Linked DNA regions of Homo sapiens: region 1 is linked to region 2. The links are contacts of gene promoters, found by promoter capture Hi-C in human tissues and cell types (Jung and others, 2019). All regions are on one chromosome and are shown on one strand. Each heading gives the region's core, a stretch centred on a gene start or on the middle of the fragment in contact. The rest is flanking DNA. Distances are from core to core; before and after follow the strand shown.

Region 1 (4,047 bases), core at 1,438-3,937, 1.0 Mb after region 2:
TCAGGACTCATCACAAGCATCTCTCTTCAGAGAAACCTTTCTAATCACCCAATCTGAGTTAACCTGTCCCCTCACTCTGTCTTCCTGGGCCATTTTATTCATACCACTTAGCACAATCTCAGGTGGCCTTATCAATTTCAGTTATTTATTTGCTTGTTTTCTTACCTGTTTATTTTTTTGTCTTTCCATATCAGAATGCCAGCTTCATAAGAGCAGGGGATTTGTGTCTTCTGTTTCCTGCTGTGGCCCGGATGTCCAACACTGTAGCTTTCCAAAGACAGTGCTAAGGGTTTGTACTAGCACAGTTAACAGGAAATTTTTATTACCTTTCTGCAATGTACCCAATTTTCCAAAAGACTTCTATGTCCTGAACTGCATTTATGCAGTTTTTACTAACAGATTTTCCCGTGAGATAATCAATGCCGTCATATTCTAGCCCAAATCTAAAACATCTGATATTTGAGTCTCCTGGGCAGCCTTATCAGTCATAAATAAACAATTTCTTTTACCTTTTTAAAAGTATTCGATTCCTCCGTACTCTCTTTTCTTTCCTGTTTTGTTTTGTTTGTTTGTTTGTTCGTTTGAGTCAGGGTTTTGCTTTGTTGCTCAAGCTGGAGTGCAGTGGCATGGTCACGGCTCACTGCAGCCTCAACCTCCCAGGCTCAAGCAATCCTCCCAACCACCTCAGCCTCCTGAGTAGCTGGGACTACAGGCATGCTCCACAACACCTAGCAAATTTTTAAATTTTTGGTGGAGATGGGGTCTCACTCTGTTGCCCGGACTGGCCTGCTCTCTTTCCCATCACCATCTTTTCAGATCCCTGGCATCAAGAACCCCAAGCTGGAAACTGAGTGGGTTAACTTTCAAGGGCTTTGCCACTCTACAATCCTGTGATTCTTTGGGCCACCAGAATATGTCAGCTAATCAAAAACTAAAAACGTCACCCTACATCCAGAAACATGCTTTCCCTCAGTTGTCTATGCAGGTAAAGCGAATTCAAGATCCACAGCTAGTCGGGTTAGTTGAGCTAAAAACAAAGGCTAACGCCAACCAATAAACAAATTTTTAAAAAACTAAAAAGAAAAAAAAAAAAGAGCTAAAAACAAAGGAGCCCATCGCTTTAACTAAAGAGTCCATGGTGAATCATCCCATAAAAGACAATCTGTTCCAAAAATCACAGGTCTCTGTCCTTGATATGAAAGCTTTGTCATATCTTGCAGTCAGCAAATCAAGTTTTTATAAGAATGAAAATAAACACGCTCGTGGTGCTATAAATAAAAGGTGAATAGGGAACAAGCTCAAAGGCATGCCAACGCCACTGAAGCACAGAGGATCATTACGCAGCTGTTCAGAGAATCCCAGCACGCCCCTGACAATGGAGGTGCCGATGATTTGTAATTAAGAATTTTAATTTCATCCTTGACCTCATAAGAATCATCACTAATACAATTTGTTTGTAAACTTGAGCCTTCACACATTCTACTACCACAAGACCTGGAACAAACTAGCACAGGCTTGTGTGAAGAGCATCCACATACTCAAATATAATTGGAGTTTAAATTTGTGAAAAGATGAACACCACCAACAATAACAACAAAACGTTTCCCAGATATCTTCATGACCATTATTTGGCATATTCCAAAGGAATAACCTGATTTAGAGTAAACTATGTTAATTTAATTACCATGCAATGTAAGTCCAGAAGAATCACCAGGTAGAGGGTGAAATCAACTCAGGCTTCCAACAAAATCATCCTTCATTTTCCTCAATAGGCACCTGGAAGAAAATTTGAATTTAAAATCTGACCGGCACATCTTTAATTTTTAGAACACTGTTTTCATTGTTGTTGTTTTGAGACGGGGTTTTACTCTACCACCCAGGCTGGAGTGCAGTGGTGCAATCTTGGCTCACTGAAACCTCTGCCTCCTGGGCTTAAGCGATCCTCTTGCCTCCGCCTCCCAAGTAGATGGGCCTGCAGGTGCATGCCACCACGCCTGGCTAATGTTTGTGTTTTTTGTAGAGACAGGGTTTCGCCACGTATCCGAGGCTAGTCTCGGACTCCTGGACTCAAGCCATCTGCCTGCCTTGGCCTCCCAAAGGGCTAGGATTACAGACATGAGCCACTGTGCCTGGCCCTAAACTCTTAAAAACAGAAAGGGCTTTGGGCCACTTGCTTGCATCCAAACAGGACAGAGCTGGCAAGAAAAAAAAGGATAAAAAGTCAGTAGATCTGTCCAGGCCTCCAAGCATTTTACAGTGTCAGGAGGTGTGTTTAAACTTGCCATTGTTATACACTAATAAATGTTAGCGGTGTGGTTAGTTTTTAAATAAATGGTAAAATTTGATTTCACATTTTTTTTTTTACTACTTTCCAATGCAGAGTTGCCTGTAATCACATTTGTGCAGAAGGGAGGAACACCCTTCCTGGAATAAGACAAACCGAGAGTGGAATTTGACGGATAAACTGTGTCTTTAAAAGAAAGTAAACCCAAAGGCCAGCATTTTATTAAACCAATAATTTACTTCTGGGTCCCTGAAGCTGCTTACCTTTTTTTTATGTTTATGGAAGAAAAGTGAATATGCATGAGCTAAGGAGAGTGAAGCTCCTGTTCTTCTGACGTCTTAACTCTGTGTTAGTGAGTTAGTGCAAATTGCCACATGGTACCTTTTCTGATCATCCCCTCCCCTTCTCTTTAATCCTTAGAGTTAAACAGGCATGAGTATGAATCCCAGTGACCACAAGAAAGTTATTTAGCTTCTGAGTCTCTTTTATTCACCTGTAAAAATGGGCATTTCAACGGGTTGTTGTAGCGATTAGGTGAACTGAAGTATTTATACTTTAATAAATAAATCTGGTGCTTCACAAGTCCTTTTTACTTGTGCCTGACACATGGAAGTCACCTGGGGACTGTCAGTGCCATCCAATTTTCCTTCTGCTTCTGCTCCTTTTTCTTTCTATTCTCCTTTTGTTTTTGTTTTTGTTTGTTTTTGGCTCGTCCTCACCTTCTACATCCTCAACACAGCAGATGTGTGGTAGAGCCCAGGGAGGTTCGTGGGGACTATTCCATGTTCTTTCCCCTTCTGCTGCCTGATGAAAACCCCATGCAGTATGAAAAATTGCAAGGAAAAGAGCTCCACCAATCCATTCATTTCCATGCCCTTGTAATTGGTGCAATTCCCTTTGGACAAGGTAACTAAACAGATCAGGCATAATAAACAAATGCAAGAGTTGAGAGCTATGAGGGTGGGAAAGTTCAACAACACCTGCCCTGGGCTCCCCTAAAGAGAAGCAGAACACCGTATGGACACCCTCTCCTGCCTCTTGCCCAAGGCATGGCCTCTGTGCTTGTTGCTGCTGCTTTTCTATTAGCTCACCCTTTTGCAAACTTTGTCTATGAGTATACTGCTTCTCTCTCTCCCACTTCCCTTCCGTTAATGTTTGATTGTATTCTACATAGCACCCAGACGTTTTTGGATTCAAGTGCCCTGAGCTCCCTAGGATTCAGGGAAACGACAACTTTGATTATCAATAATAGAGATTCCAATTGGTCATGGAAATTGCTGGAGTTAACAATTCAAATCTTCAGACTAGCATTGTGCACAACATGAGCATCACCCAGTACATCTTTGTTCAAATTGCTGCAATGTTTTGAAGTAGTTGCAAAATAAAGTGTTTTAGGGAAATCTCTCATGTTGGATTTTCTATGAGTAGAAAGTAACTTTTTTCTCAACTGAAGCTGGTTTAGGACCTATGCATGTTTTAATTTTCAAACTAAATCAGGGGGTTTATTATTTCAATTCTGTTTAAATATATCAGGACACGCATTCAGTGAAATAAAATTGTGAAATGTGCTCCTGGGGCTTTAAGAAAAATGAGAGGTCCTGAGACTCACGTGGACAATGACAGTGCTGGGCGAGGTGGTTGAAGCAGGGTTGCAGCACAGGTGTGTCGCTTCCTGGAGCTGTTCTGGGATGGATGTGTGGAGAAGCCAGGGAAATGCCTAGACTCTCACACTGAAAATTGCCTCTCTAGCTCTGTGGACCGCT
Region 2 (3,939 bases), core at 435-2,934:
TCACTAAGAAAGGGAGAAATTCTTGCTGGGGAATGGTTCTTCAGGCATTCAGAGCCCTCACTATCTTTGGAAAAGCAAGGTTTTTTCTCCAAGAGTTTTGAAGACTGCACGTTCAATATCTCATTTTGTTTGCTTCCCTCTCTTGGCTCCCTCCTACCCACAGGGTGCCACAGCACGCTGTCTTTCCCAGTAGCAAAGGCGCTGTGTCTCAAAAGCTGGCTATCTTATTCATTTCTGAGTCAAACTCTAGACCATGCTTGCCTCTTCAGGCACTTGGCTCTCTCAGCACAAATATAACAGGTCTTTGCACTCCAGGCCCTTGCCAAGAGTGAACTCTGGAGGCCTGAGGCCATGTGGAATCAGGCCTGAAGTGCCCTCCTTTACCCTGTGGCACCAAAGCCTGCTTCAGATGGCTGGGCCACATCCTGCCGGTCTGCCAAGAAGAGCTTGGGGGCACTCTGGCCACAACAGTCAAGCATCCTGGGGGCCTCCTTCCCATTAAGGCCCTCAGGTTTCGCACTTATTTCCCCAGAACTTATCTGTGCCTTCCACAGCCCACATGGCCCCGGGCTGGACTTCCAGGGGCTTTGTTCCCTTCTCAGCTGCGGTTTATTTGTTTACTTTTGAAACACGAAGTGAGGCCAGAGATGGGAAACTTTGAGCTTTTGCATGCTTCTCCACTCGGTCTCCTCACTGGAGAGGGCTGGCAGTGCTCAGAATGGTGCATGCCCCCTGCTCCTCACCGCCACCCATGCTCCAAAGCCAGGATGTGAGTCTTGCAGAGCTGCAGACAGCCCCTAAAGGGTGTGCTCCCAATTTGAGCTCATCTGACCCAGTTAAGGAGCCAGAATGGGAGAAGCATCTGCCACTCATGAGCTCTGGCTGGGGGGCCCCTGCCCTCCCCCTCGCCCCCAGTCCTGATGCCCTTCTGGGCGGCTTCAAGCAGCAGCTGCAAAATGTCAGTGCAAGAGGCAGAAGAACCAGGGCGAGCGTGCAGGCTCCGGGTGATAGAAGCAGAAGGAAAGTCTAGAAGCGCACGGAGCAAGGGGCCACGCGGTGTCGCAGGCAGCGAGGACAGCCCAGGCTCCCAGAGACCGCAGCCGGGTGGAGGCGTCTGCGGGTACCAGGCGACGGGCCAGGGCGCACGGCGAGGCCACCCACCTCTTGATGTAGCTGCTGAGGCGGTAGAGCTGCCCGTCGAGGCGCACGAGGCCGTCACCGAAGACGTTGAAGCCCCCCCGCGCCGCCGCCGGCTCCCCGGGCCTGGCCACCACGAGCTGGTCGCCGCTCAGCTGGAAGGCACCGGGCTGCAGGCGCAGCAGCTGAGCCAGCGGCAGCAGGGCCAGCTCGCAGTCGCAGGTCCACAGGCTGCGAAGCTCCCCAGACGAGATGGAGGTCAGGCTCGGCCTGGCCACCGGCTCGCAGGCCGCCCCCGCCATGCCCGCGTCGTCGGTCCTCACACCGCCTGCTTCCGTCCGGTGCCTACAGCCCCCAGCCGGCACCTGATGGTCCCCAGGAGGGGCCGGGCGCCCTGCCTGCGTCAGCCGCGCGCGAGGTGAGGAGGGGGTCGGTCTGCCCGCCTGGCCGGGACGCGGTGGCCGCTCAGGTGCCAGTCTGACCGCCCGGGCGGCCCCTCCCAAGCTGCCACTCGCTGGGAGCCCTGCAGGCACCGCGCGGAGAAAGCGGCCCCGGCGCAGCGCGGCCCCTTTTATCCGCCCTCTGGACGCCCGCCTCGCCCCTGCCGGCCCACGGCCACGACCCCAGAGGCTCGGGGCAGAGTTATCATCGTCTCATAACTTGGCATGCTCGAGTCTGCTCGCAGGCAAGGCTTAGTCATCCCCCTGGGGTCCACTACTCAACACCAGCGCTGGCCCCCGCCCTGCCTGGCGGACACTGCCGGAGGCTGGAGGTGGGGAGAGTCCTCCCCGGGTTCCCAGGCCCTGCCTATGGTGGGCGGCAGGGCGCACAGCACCCATCCTTGCCTAAGACACCACACCCCTGGTGTTGATTGGAGAAGAAGGCAAGGGCTCTGGCCCTACCCATTCCACCTGGGACCCAGAGGCTGTCAAAGGCCAGTGCTGGAACTCCGATCCCCACCTCAGTACCAGACCTCTCACTCAGCCTCAGTTTTCTGCCATTTTAACTCCATCCAGATCGTACCCTGCATTTCCCTCCTTTCAGCCTTTCCTTCAGCTGGTTGCTGGCCCTGGATCCCTTCCCCCTAGAAATCCCACTGATCATCACATCGCTTTTCCATAAAGCCTTCACGAATCCCACGAGGGTTTCATCGCTTTGCTTCTCCTTTCTACTGCACGGTGAACCCTAGACTGCAATGTGCCGTGTAGTGGGGATAGCAGGGTCCTAGCATCCTCCCTTCTCCCCTGCCTCCCCAGTAGGTGGTGATCTCCTTGAGCCCCAGAATATGTTCATTTCTTCAGTCTATAAATATGTGAGTGCTAGCTATGGGCTCATTGATCTCCTGAGGTATGAAAGGAGAACTATATTATTCCATTTAATTAAACACCTATTTCTGCTGCGGAGAAGCCTGGATGGGATGGGAGGAGAATCTAGCCTAGTTTCGAGGCTTTCTGTAGTACTGTGTTTTAGGATTCTAAGCTACATCCCAAAAGTTGAGTAGAACGTAGAGAATATCCTTAGTTAGTCTTTGTGTGCCCCCACATGAACTCTTGTGTAGGTTTAATCAGATGGGATGAAGAGTCCTCCCGCCACATCTCATTTAAATCTCAGAATATAAATGAGCCCCACTCTCTTCTCTTCTTCTAGGTGCACACCTATCCTTTCTCCAGACATGGATCTTTTACCCATGGGATCATTACCCCATCTCTGGGCCTCTCTGAACAAATCTAATTCACTGAGCATGAATTGATCACTACCCACTCAACCTTTTGTGGCGCAGGAAGGATGCTCTACCTGTGAAAAAAGCATCCAGAAGATCTTCTTGCAAAGGGAGGTTTGAGGATCCCTGCAAAGAGAATGGGTCTGGGGTGGGCTGAGACTGTAGACAGGACTCAGAGGCTGGGGCTGTTTTCACAGGGGAGGGATTTGGTGCCAGCAGTTAAATCCATTGTGCCCTATTTAGAACTTCACTCTTGTCCCAAACATTGACAGAGTCATCACTATGCACCAGGGACCATCTTAAGCTCTGAGGTCACACACACACACACACAAGGATCCAATAAGTGCTACCATAGATGTATGGACTAAGCACTATGAGAAATAAGTGGTTCTGCCCCAAGAAGGGTGCTCAAAGGAGGTGACACATGGCTAGACTTCCAATACACAGGGGAGGCTCCCAGGGGAAGGAGCAGCAGCAATAAGGAGATGGGAGAGAAGATTCTGTACCATTCTATGCAAAGAGAGATGCTATGGTTCCATCTGGGGGAGGGGGGAAATTTTTAAACAGCTAGGGCAGACCATCCTATTTGGGATAAGAGGGGTCAGTTTTATATGAGATGAGACCAGAAAGGGCTGTTGGAGCCAGATTGTGACAGACCCTCTGAGTTGTCAGGAATTTGGATTCTTAAGACAATGAGGAGCCTTGGGATGTTTTAAAGAAAGGAAGTGATATAATTATGCCTCAGTTCAGATAGACACCTTTGGTTATGACCAAAGAAGATGTTTTGAAACAGGAAGATCAGAGGCAGAGAAACCAGTTAGGAGATTGATGTAATAATCCAGATAACATATGATGGGGGTCTGAACAGAAGCAGCTGTGGGAATGGAGATGAGGTTTCAACATTTTTGAGTCAGAGTCAGCAGGAAGGATCTTATGAGTAAATAAATGAAAAAGAGCAGAGAGACCCACTTAGTCTCTTGCTTGGGTACCCAGAGAGATGGTGACACCATTAACGAAGCTAGGGTTCACAGGAGGAAGAGTAGGAGTTTGAGGAGAGATAGTGATGAGTTCAGGGGGGACAT

Evidence for each region. The method cuts DNA at HindIII sites, captures the fragments that hold promoters and counts their contacts. A contact is called where the count stands out against the background at its distance.
Region 1: a contact is called between a fragment that was not itself captured here and the fragment with the promoter of MEDAG in region 2, in 1 of the 25 tissues and cell types used here (lymphoblastoid cells).

The regions. Positions count from the first base shown.
Region 1 is chr13:29,866,023-29,870,069 of GRCh38, reverse strand. It overlaps the pseudogene TIMM8BP1. Among named protein-coding and RNA genes, the nearest start is that of UBL3, 17 kb to the right of the region's middle. The HindIII fragment of the contact is 4,331 bases long and covers 522-4,047 here.
Region 2 is chr13:30,904,016-30,907,954 of GRCh38, reverse strand. It overlaps MEDAG (mesenteric estrogen dependent adipogenesis), which reads right to left and starts at 1,684. Exons shown (of 5, transcript NM_032849.4): 1 at 1,162-1,684. The coding sequence starts at 1,439. All of the region lies in intron 2 of TEX26-AS1 (TEX26 antisense RNA 1), which reads left to right. RefSeq lists an enhancer at 582-1,083. The HindIII fragment of the contact is 12,319 bases long and covers 1-3,939 here.